Linked DNA regions of Homo sapiens: region 1 is linked to region 2. Evidence: promoter capture Hi-C in human tissues and cell types (Jung and others, 2019). All regions are on one chromosome and are shown on one strand. The core of a region is centred on a gene start or on the middle of the fragment in contact, and the rest is flanking DNA. Distances in the headings are between cores, read along the strand shown.

Region 1 (4,614 bases), core at 301-2,800, 810 kb after region 2:
TATTTTCGGTAGAGATAGTATTTTGCCATGTTGGCTGGGCTGGTCTTGAACTCCTGGCCTCAAGTGATCTGCCTGCTTTGGCCTCCTAAAGTGCTAGGACTATAGGCATGAGCCACTGCACCCAGTCTGTCCTGCAATTTGATGGACTACAAATTAAATAGAGCATCATTACTAAAAGGTCAAATTTTAGGCCGGGCATGGGCACATTCAAGTTTGAGAACAGCCTAGAGCTGCACTTTAAAATTTTAAGTGCTGGAGTAGAAATGTAAGTCTTCTGTCATGTACTATGAATATAGCTATTAAATAGTGGATACTCTTTTTTCCTTGATTCAACATTCAATATTCAAAATTGATTTTTTTTTTTTTTTTTGAGATGGCGTCTCATTCTGTCACCCAGGCTGGAGTACAGTGGTGCGATCTCGGCTCACTGGAACCTCCACTTCCTGGCTTCGAGCTATTCTCCTGTCTCAGCCTCCCAAGTGGCTGGGATTACAGGTGTGCGCCACCACACCCAGCTAATTTTTGTATTTTTAGTAGAGACGGGGTTTCACCATGTTGGCCAGGCTGGTCTTGAACTCGACCTCAGGTGATCCGTCTGCCTTGGCCCCCCAAAAGTGCTGGGATTACAGACTTGAGCCACTTCGCCCAGCCGAGTGTTTTGTGTGTGTGTGTGTGTGTGTGTGTGTGTGTGTGTGTGTGTGTGTGTGATTTATCACATTTACTTAGGGAATAAAAAATTGAATCTGTCATGTTGAGAGGCTTTGTTATCTCACACTAGCTATTGGCTCAGGAAACATTTAAGTTTATTGAACCAAAACATTTACTTAAAGGAAAGGTAAGGGTGTTTCTCAGCAAACTCATTGGGCCCATAGCTGTTCTTTTGAGACTCGTCTCAAGGAGGGCAGCTGCTGTAAACTGGTCCCTTGGCAGGTCATGGTGAGAGGGAACATATTGAATTGGATGGCCAGAGGTGTGACCCAGTATCTGGTTCCTGGTTATCTGATTTATGTTTTTACATCTTCCAGGTGCCCTCCCGGTTGCAGAGAGCTTCAGCTTCTGCTTGGTAACTCTGCTGTCTGATGTGGCCTATAGGGATCCTTCACTTAGGGATGAGGTAAGCATGTGTTGGTTGATTTGGTATGCATTTCTATTAGATTGAATAGAGTCCCAAAGTGATGAAAAGATTTTAAAAACGTGAAATGTGATTGAATTGTTTGTTGATATTTATCTATTTCATCCTGTTGACAGCAGACCTAAGACATGCTTAGGTCTTTCACTACTCTTTAGGATCTCGAGTCTTATCTTATTAAACTTTTCTTTTTTTTTTTTTCTTTTTTCTAATGAAGGGCAGGGGCTGCAGAGACATGAGCAGCACTATCCCTTTCAGCTTTTCAGAAAGTCCTTTAAGGTAGGCGGCAGAAAAAGGCAGAGGCAGCTCATTTTTCTTGCTCTTTGTTGGGGATTGAAGTCATTCATAGAAGATCATTTTCTTTTCTTTTTTTGAGGCAGTCTTGCTCTGTCATCCAGGCTGGAGTGCAGTGGTGCAATCTTGGCTCACTGCAACCTCTGCCGTCCACCTCAAGCCAGCCTCCCTCCTAAGACTCCCAAGTAGCTGAGACTATAGGCGTGCACCATCATGCCAGCTAATTTGTTTTGTATTTTTTGTAGAGACAAGGTTTCGCCATGTTGCCCAGGCTGGTCTTGAACTCCGGGCCTCAAGTGATCCTTCTGCCTCGACCTCCCAGAGTGCTGGGATTATAGGTGTGAGCCACTGTGCCCAGCTAGAAGAGAATCTTCTAGGTAGCTGAAGCTTTTATCTTTAAGGGCACAGACTTTCTTTAGATTTTGTTAATTTTGATAGAAATGTTACAAACATGTATTTCATACTTTCCTGTTCTTTAAACAAAGAATGTAATCATACAACTTTTTCTTAAATTTATCGCTTAGAAAGTTAGTTTTTGTATGCTGCTGTTCCTAGGTTCTTCCAAACAGTGCCTAGTTGCTTGTCTGCATTCTAAATGTTCCCAGTTAGTGATGTATTTTGACTAATTTAGATTCTTCATTTATTTGTAGGTTGGCTAAAGAAATACTTAAATATGTTAGAATAATGTGTTTTTATTAAAAAGTTGGACATTAAGGGCTTTTTTCTATGAATAAAATTTATCAGAATAAAGAGGTCAACACCAAAGGTGATAACATGACTTTAACATATAAAATGGAAAAAGTGGCTGGGTGCGGTGGCTCAGGCTTGTAATCCTAGCACTTTGGGATGCTGAGGCGGGTGGATCACCTGAGGTCAGGAGTTTGAGACCAGCCTGGCCAACATGAAGAAACCCCATCTCTACTAAAAATATAAAAATTAGCCGGGCGTGGTGGCAGGAGCCTGTAATCCTAGCTACTCGGGAGGCTGAGGCATGAGAATCACTTGAACCTGGGAGGCAGAGGTTGCAGTGAGCTGAGATCATGCCATTGCACTCCAGCCTGGATAACAGAGTGAGACTCGGTCTCAAAATAAATAAATAAAATGGAAAAACTATTGCTTTTCAAGCTTTTGTAGATTATTCAGCATTACTTAATATTAGGAAAATGTAAGAGATTTGACTTGGTTATGAACAAGTCATGTCACACCAACTTCATTTTTTCTTTGCCTGGGTTTTCTAAGAAGAATGGTTGAGAGAAATGAAGTTGCTGCATTCTAGTGGATCTTCATAAATGCTTTGGACAAGCACCTTTCCTGACATCCTGGACCAGTTATATGGGCTGAGGGCCAAATGGTTTGGAGGGTTTGCAGAACTGCCTGAAGGACTGTCCCAAAGGGTGATCAGTGAGGTATCGGCCTAGCAGGACCCTCCTGTCATTGGAGCAAAACAAGCTAGTGCTGTGAATGAAGATCTGGAAAGCAAGTTGATTTCATTTGGAGAAGGCACAAAGCTGGGAATCACAGATTTGTACAGTGAGCTAAAGCTAATACCATGAGTTTTTGTAGGGGTAGATGAAAGATAAAAAATACCAACTACGTTAGTAGAGATTACATAGTTCAGGAGAAGCAGGTGCGAAAGAAGACTTAGGTATCTTCCTCATCTATAAGCTTATTGTCATGGATGGTGGCTCACGCCTGTAATCCCAACATTCTGGGAGGCTGAGGCAGGAGGATCACTTGAGCCCGGGAATTTGAGACTAGCTTGGGCAGCATAGCAAAACCTATCCCTACAAAAATAAAAATAAAAATTAGCTGGGCATAGTGACACATGCCTGTAATCCCAGCTACTTAGGAGGCTGAGGCAGGAGGATTGCTTGAGTCCAGGAGTTTGAGGCTACAGTGAGCTATCATTGAACCCCTGCACTGTTCTTGGCTCACTATATCCTCGGCCTCCTGGGCTCAAGTGACCCTCACACGTCAGCCTCCTGACCACAGGCACGCACCACCACACCTGGCTAATTTTTGTATGTTTTGTAGAGACAGGGTTTTGCTACTTTGCCCAGGCAGGTCTGAACTCCTGAGCTCAACTGATCCACCCGCTTCAGCCTCCCAAAGTGCTGGGATTGGCTGGGCACAGTGGCTCATGCCTATAATCCCAGTACCTTGGGAGGCCGAGGTGGGTGGATCGATCACCTGAGGTTGGGAGTTTGAGACCAGACTAACCAACATGGAGAAACCCCGTCTCTACTAAAAATAAAAAATTAGCCAGGCGTGGTGGTGCATGCCTGCAATCCCAGCTGCTAAGGAGGCTGAGGCAGGAGAATCGCTTGAACCCAGGAGGCGGAGGTTGTGGTGAGCCGAGACATGCCATTGCACTGCAGCCTGGGCAACAAGAGTGAAACCGCGCCTCAAAACAAACAAACAAACAAAAGTGCTGGGATTATAGGCATAAGCCACCCTTCCAGGAACAAAAAAAAATTTCTTAACTTAAATAATTATGGACTGGGCGCAGTGGCTCACGCCTATAATCTCAGCACTTTGCGAGGCCAAGGCAGGTGGATCACCTGAGGTCAGGAGTTCGAGACCAGCCCGGCTAACATGGTGAAACCCTGTCTGTACTAAAAATACAAAAAATTAGCCAGGCATGGTGGCATGCACCTGTAATCTTAGCTACTCAGGAGACTGAGTCAGGAGAATCGCTTGAACCTGGGAGGTGGAGGTTGCAGTAAGCCAAGATCATGCCACTGCACTCCAGCCTGGGCAACAAGAGCGAAACTTCGTCTCAAACAAATAAAAAAAATTTAAAAATTATGTATAAGCTCATTGAGATGAGCTTCACATAAGCAGTGTGAAGTGGCTGCAGAAAAGCTAATGTCACATACATAGAAGTGTAGAATCTGTGATGAGTTTGGTGAGTATGCTGGGTGAGTTCCAGCATCCCAGATGTTAATGTATTTTATTCTGAGCACTACACTTCCAGACAGAAAACTGGACTACCGTAAAATCAGAAGCTGGCAATTAGCATTACAAAGGATTTATGATCATGAAGAATACGGTTGAAAAGCGCTAGGGCGTTTACCCATGAAAAGAGAAGATTTGGGGACCCATCACCTGTTTACAGAATATGTTAATAGAGGAAAAAGCAGCCCCAAGGGCTGGTAGGTACAAGCCCCAGGAGGACAACATTGGCCCAG
Region 2 (4,491 bases), core at 1,220-3,719:
TGGAGGGGGAGCCTCCTCTGTCCTTGCGTTTTCTCTGAAGCATCTTGGGGCTGGAGACTGTGGGGCGGGGGGAAGCATAGGGCTGCCCGCCATTGGTGGGTTTAGCTGGCTCAGAGCCCAGAGGCGGCAGATCTGAGGTGGGCTCCAAGCTGGTGGGGAACAGAGGACGGCCGTCGCGGCAGTGGGCGCCACGGAGCTTATCCACAGCCTGGCTGACCACGCTTTGCAGGGCAGGGAAGAGGCGGTGGTCAGCCAGGAAGTTCAGCGTGCGATGGGGCTCACGGAGCGGACAGTAGCCAGGCAGGTCGAGGGACTCCAGCTGGCTCAGTAATGACTTGATCTCCTTATTGAACTCTCGCTTGCGGAAGATTGGCTCCTGTTCTCCAGGCCTCGGCTCTGATGCTTCAGGCACGCCAGAGCTTGAGCCCAGCAGCCCTGAGAACCAGGACAAGGGCTGCTCCTGTGTCCACTGAAAGCTGGTCTGGCTACCCAGCGAATCCCACAGCAGGGAGTCCCTCTGGGAGCAGGACTGACTGAGGCCTTTCTGCAGAAAGAGGGTGACTCTGTGAAGTGTTCAGGAGCAGCCAAGCCAGGGCTGACCCTAGCCCTGGGCTCTCCATGGGAGTCCACCCCACCCAGCCATGGCCCTGGCTCTCACCCCTTCCCTCTCCAGCTGTAGCAGCCGCTTGAGGTTCTTCTCCAGCAGGAGTTTGTCCCTCACAGGTGGCAATGAGCCTTGGGCACCTAGGTCACTGTCCCGGCTGTGGGAGCCCAGACAGCCGGCCATGAGGCTGCTATGGCAGTTGGACATGGAGCTGGAGCTGGATGGGTAGTTGTTGGGGTGTCCAGTGCAGAGGGTCGGCCGTACACGGTGCCGGTGTACGGTGCTGAGGCTGGGCCGGGCATGTGCCCGCCGTCCACCACTTGGCACCTCCACTGGGTCCTGCACCTCCACAAGCGGCACCCCAGCCTCCGTCTTCATGGCAGCCATGCGCTCAGTCGCCTTCTCCACCACTGTCTCCAGGCTGTCCAGGACCTGGCTCTCAGTTAGGAAATCCAGAAAGTGGCCAAAGGGCTGAGGGTGCCTCTTGTTTCGGCGTTGGCCCTGGAGTGCTGAGCTGCCACATGTGGATGGTGGGTGTGGCACACGGCCCGGCTTGCAGGCTGGCCGCATTTCTGGGACCAGTGGCTTCTTGGGCAGCTGCACCTGAGCAGACAGGTATGTCACAGGGGGCAGGGGTGCCCTACAGGTGAAGGGTTCCCTGGGGTAACACTAGGACCTGGGTGGGAGTGAGTAGTGGAAGGAGCTGCATTTTGGAGTCTGGAAGCCCTGGGTTTGGACCCTGGCTCTGCCACCTACAGCCTGATGCCAGTGTGCAAGATGGCCCCTCTTGAGGTCCAATGTCCTCATCTGCAAAGTGGAGGTCTATTCAGGGTCACCCCGAAGCTTTCCTAACACCTACATTTCACACACACAAGTCCTGGCTAAGGAGTCTGCAAGCCTGCTTCTGCCCTGACACGTGGCAGGATGAGCAATCATGAATCTCTCGGAGTCTCCCTCCAGCTCCTCATCTGTCCATGCAGCAGGCCATCCCTGTATCCATGGCAGGGCTGCAAACAACATCTGAGGTCTTGAGTGCAGACAACACCTGAGGTCTTGAGCCCTGTGCTACCCGGGCCTGTTTCTCCAACTTGAGCCATAGGCACCTAGTCAACTCCATGCTCCCACTCTAGGGTCCCAGTCCACCCAAGCACCTTCTGGGTCGCTGGAAGTCAGGAGGAAACAAGGAATGAAATTGAGTGTGACAGGGGCAAGCAGTGGGGGACATAGGAGAAGTCAAGGCAATAAGGACTTCACTAAGAGGCCCAGAGAAGTCAATAGACAATGAGAAATGGGGGTTGTGGTCTTGGGTGCCAGGGTTGGTGGGGAACATGTTGTGGCCTCAAGGGTCGGCGCCCTGCTGGGCACACTTACCCGTGCACTGCACATGGAGTGGCTGGCCTCGTCATCGGCCAGGTAACCCGAGTGGTGGCGGCACCTGGCCATGTGGTCACCTGGCAGGTGACCGGGCCTGCTGCCCACCTCTCTCTTCAGCTGCGCATTCCTCTCTGCGTGGGGTGGGGAGACAACCTGAGGGTCTCCAATAGGTCCACGCATCTGTGGCCCTGGAGTCTGCGGGTCCCTCGCTCCCCGCACCCCGCCTCCTTCATGCATCCAGCCCTTCCTCTGCTCCATGGCCCCCATGCGTCTGCAGGCAGGCAGTTTCCAGAGTCATCGGGGTGGAATCGCTGAGGACAATCCTGTCTCCGATCATCTTTGGATCTGCGTGTGCTCGACCCGCCCTCCTCCCAAACCCTGGGCAACCTGGCTTTCACCCCAGCCCAGAATCAACAGACTCACCAGAAACACCGCCTTGCTCCGCACAGGCCAGTACAGTCTGCGCCCTCACTGGAGCAGCTGCACAGTGCGAGGAAGTCGGCTGGCGGCCTCCACTTGCTTATTTGCATACCACATCCTCATTGGTTCTTACCGAGGAGCTCGTCCACTTCCCTCTCCGACACAATGGTTGGGGGCGGGGCCCACATTGGCCCCACCTCCAATTCTCTGGGCTCTGCCCTCCCACACTCGCCTGGGAGCCGCAGGCTGAGGATGCTGGTGCCCACGCTCCCCGCTGCCGGGAGGACCCCCCACCCACCACCGAAGCTGGGGCTAGGCTCTTTGATCTGCTCCTGCCCCGAGGGGAGCCTAAAAGCCAAAGCCACGTCTTCCACCGGTGGCACAAGCACCTTCCTCGTGTCCTCCTTGGTTGCTGCGCAGCCCTGGGCCTCCTGCTCCTGTTCGTTTCCAGGGGCCTCTGCCCTTCCCGCGGTGTGCACAGCCCCAGGTTCTGCCTTGAGACCTCTCCCCTCTGCAGTGGAAAGAGTGCCGGCTCTAAGTCACAGACCTAGCTTCAGTTCCTGGCTCTGCTCTTTCCTGCCAATGTGACTCAACCTCTCAGCATTAGTCCCACACTGTAAATGGGCTTGAGTGTTCTTCCAATATGGGAGTATGGGATTCAATAAAATCTCCCTACAGCACACCCAGTAACCCAGTGGAGCCTTGTGTATTCTTTAATTAATTAATTTATTTATTTGGAGACGGGAGTCTCGCTCAGTCGCCCAGGCTGGAGTGCAGTGGCGCAATCTCGGCTGACTGCAAGCTCCGCCTCCCGTGTTCACGCCATTCTCCTGCCTCAGCCTCCCGAGCAGCTGGGATTACAGGGGCCCGCCACCACGCCCGGCTAATTTTTTTGTAGTTTTAGTAGAGATGGGGTTTCACCGTGTTAGCTAGGATGGTCTCGATTCCCTGATCTTGTGATCCGCCTGCCTTGGCCTCCCAAAGTGCTGGGATTACAGACCTGAGCCACCGCGCCCAGCGGAGCCTTGTATATTCTTACCTCCTCTCCCTCCCTCCTTTTCCCCTTTGCTCAGTAATACCCCACCATGGTGTCACTTCTTCCAAAAACCTTTTACTGTGAATTCTGCCACGCCCTACGCAATTCACAGTAAACCCCATTCCAGACTCTACCATACCATGTTGCTACTTATTTTTCTATCAGATGGTGCTTCTTTGGGGCCAGAACAGAGGCAAGTCACCCTTAATCTCTAATACTTTCAGTGTCTGGCACCAAGTAGGTGCTCAATAAATGTCAGTCTCCTCCTTCCCACCTGCAGACCCTCGGGACCTCTGACCTTTCCAAGATCAGCTTCCAGTGGAGAACGGTGGTTGGTTGAGGTCTGACAATTCACCAGTCACTATAAACACATCAGTCCTTATGCCAAGAGCATGGCTGAAGGACTCTATGAGGCTTTCAATCCTCACATGCCTCACGAAATATTGTTCCTCTCAAGCTCTGCTCTGTCCTCTCAGCTCTGGCTACCCACTAGGTCAGGGACAGAGAGGACATAGCAGGCCTGGGTGCTGGCCCCGAGGTGTGAGGTTCAGTCTTAGCTCCACTACTCCTGGCAGGACCACACTTTCGCTCTCTGAACCCCAGTTTCCTCATCTGTGAAACAGGAATGACATTACCAATTTCATAGCCCGGACACAAATACCACACTTTCCATGGGAAAAATCAAGACTGTCACATTGCAATGGAAACTGTGGCTGCCAACCATAATGACTATTTATACAGTCATGGGTAAGGAAAGCTTTTCTGGACCAAAGAGAAAACAGTGAAGTTATGAATGTAAAAGCTGTAGCCTGGCAGAGAGCTCAAGATGGAAACTGGAGATAATGTTTTCTCAAATGAAGCCTTAGTGTATATGCTTTCTTTCATTTTCTTAGTGTCTAGAGCTCAAGAAAAAAAAAAAATCAACAAATCAAGAAAATGCCTGCTCTTAGAAAAATCTGCAAAAGATCAATAGGCAATTTGAAAAAGAATAAAAATAGCTAATAATATGAAAATTTTCATTCGCACTGCTAAGAAACTACTAGAATGTGATAACATT

Evidence for each region. The method cuts DNA at HindIII sites, captures the fragments that hold promoters and counts their contacts. A contact is called where the count stands out against the background at its distance.
Region 1: a contact is called between a fragment that was not itself captured here and the fragment with the promoter of CCDC116 in region 2, in 1 of the 25 tissues and cell types used here (dorsolateral prefrontal cortex).

The regions. Positions count from the first base shown.
Region 1 is chr22:20,820,826-20,825,439 of GRCh38, reverse strand. It overlaps PI4KA (phosphatidylinositol 4-kinase alpha), which reads left to right. Exons shown (of 55, transcript NM_058004.4): 4 at 1,026-1,114. Among named protein-coding and RNA genes, the nearest start is that of PI4KA, 36 kb to the left of the region's middle. The HindIII fragment of the contact is 7,070 bases long and covers 1-4,614 here.
Region 2 is chr22:21,630,738-21,635,228 of GRCh38, reverse strand. It overlaps CCDC116 (coiled-coil domain containing 116), which reads right to left and starts at 2,469. Exons shown (of 5, transcript NM_152612.3): 1 at 2,402-2,469; 2 at 1,976-2,109; 3 at 659-1,207; 4 at 1-544. The coding sequence starts at 2,047. RefSeq lists an enhancer at 2,238-2,737. The HindIII fragment of the contact is 5,816 bases long and covers 1-2,819 here.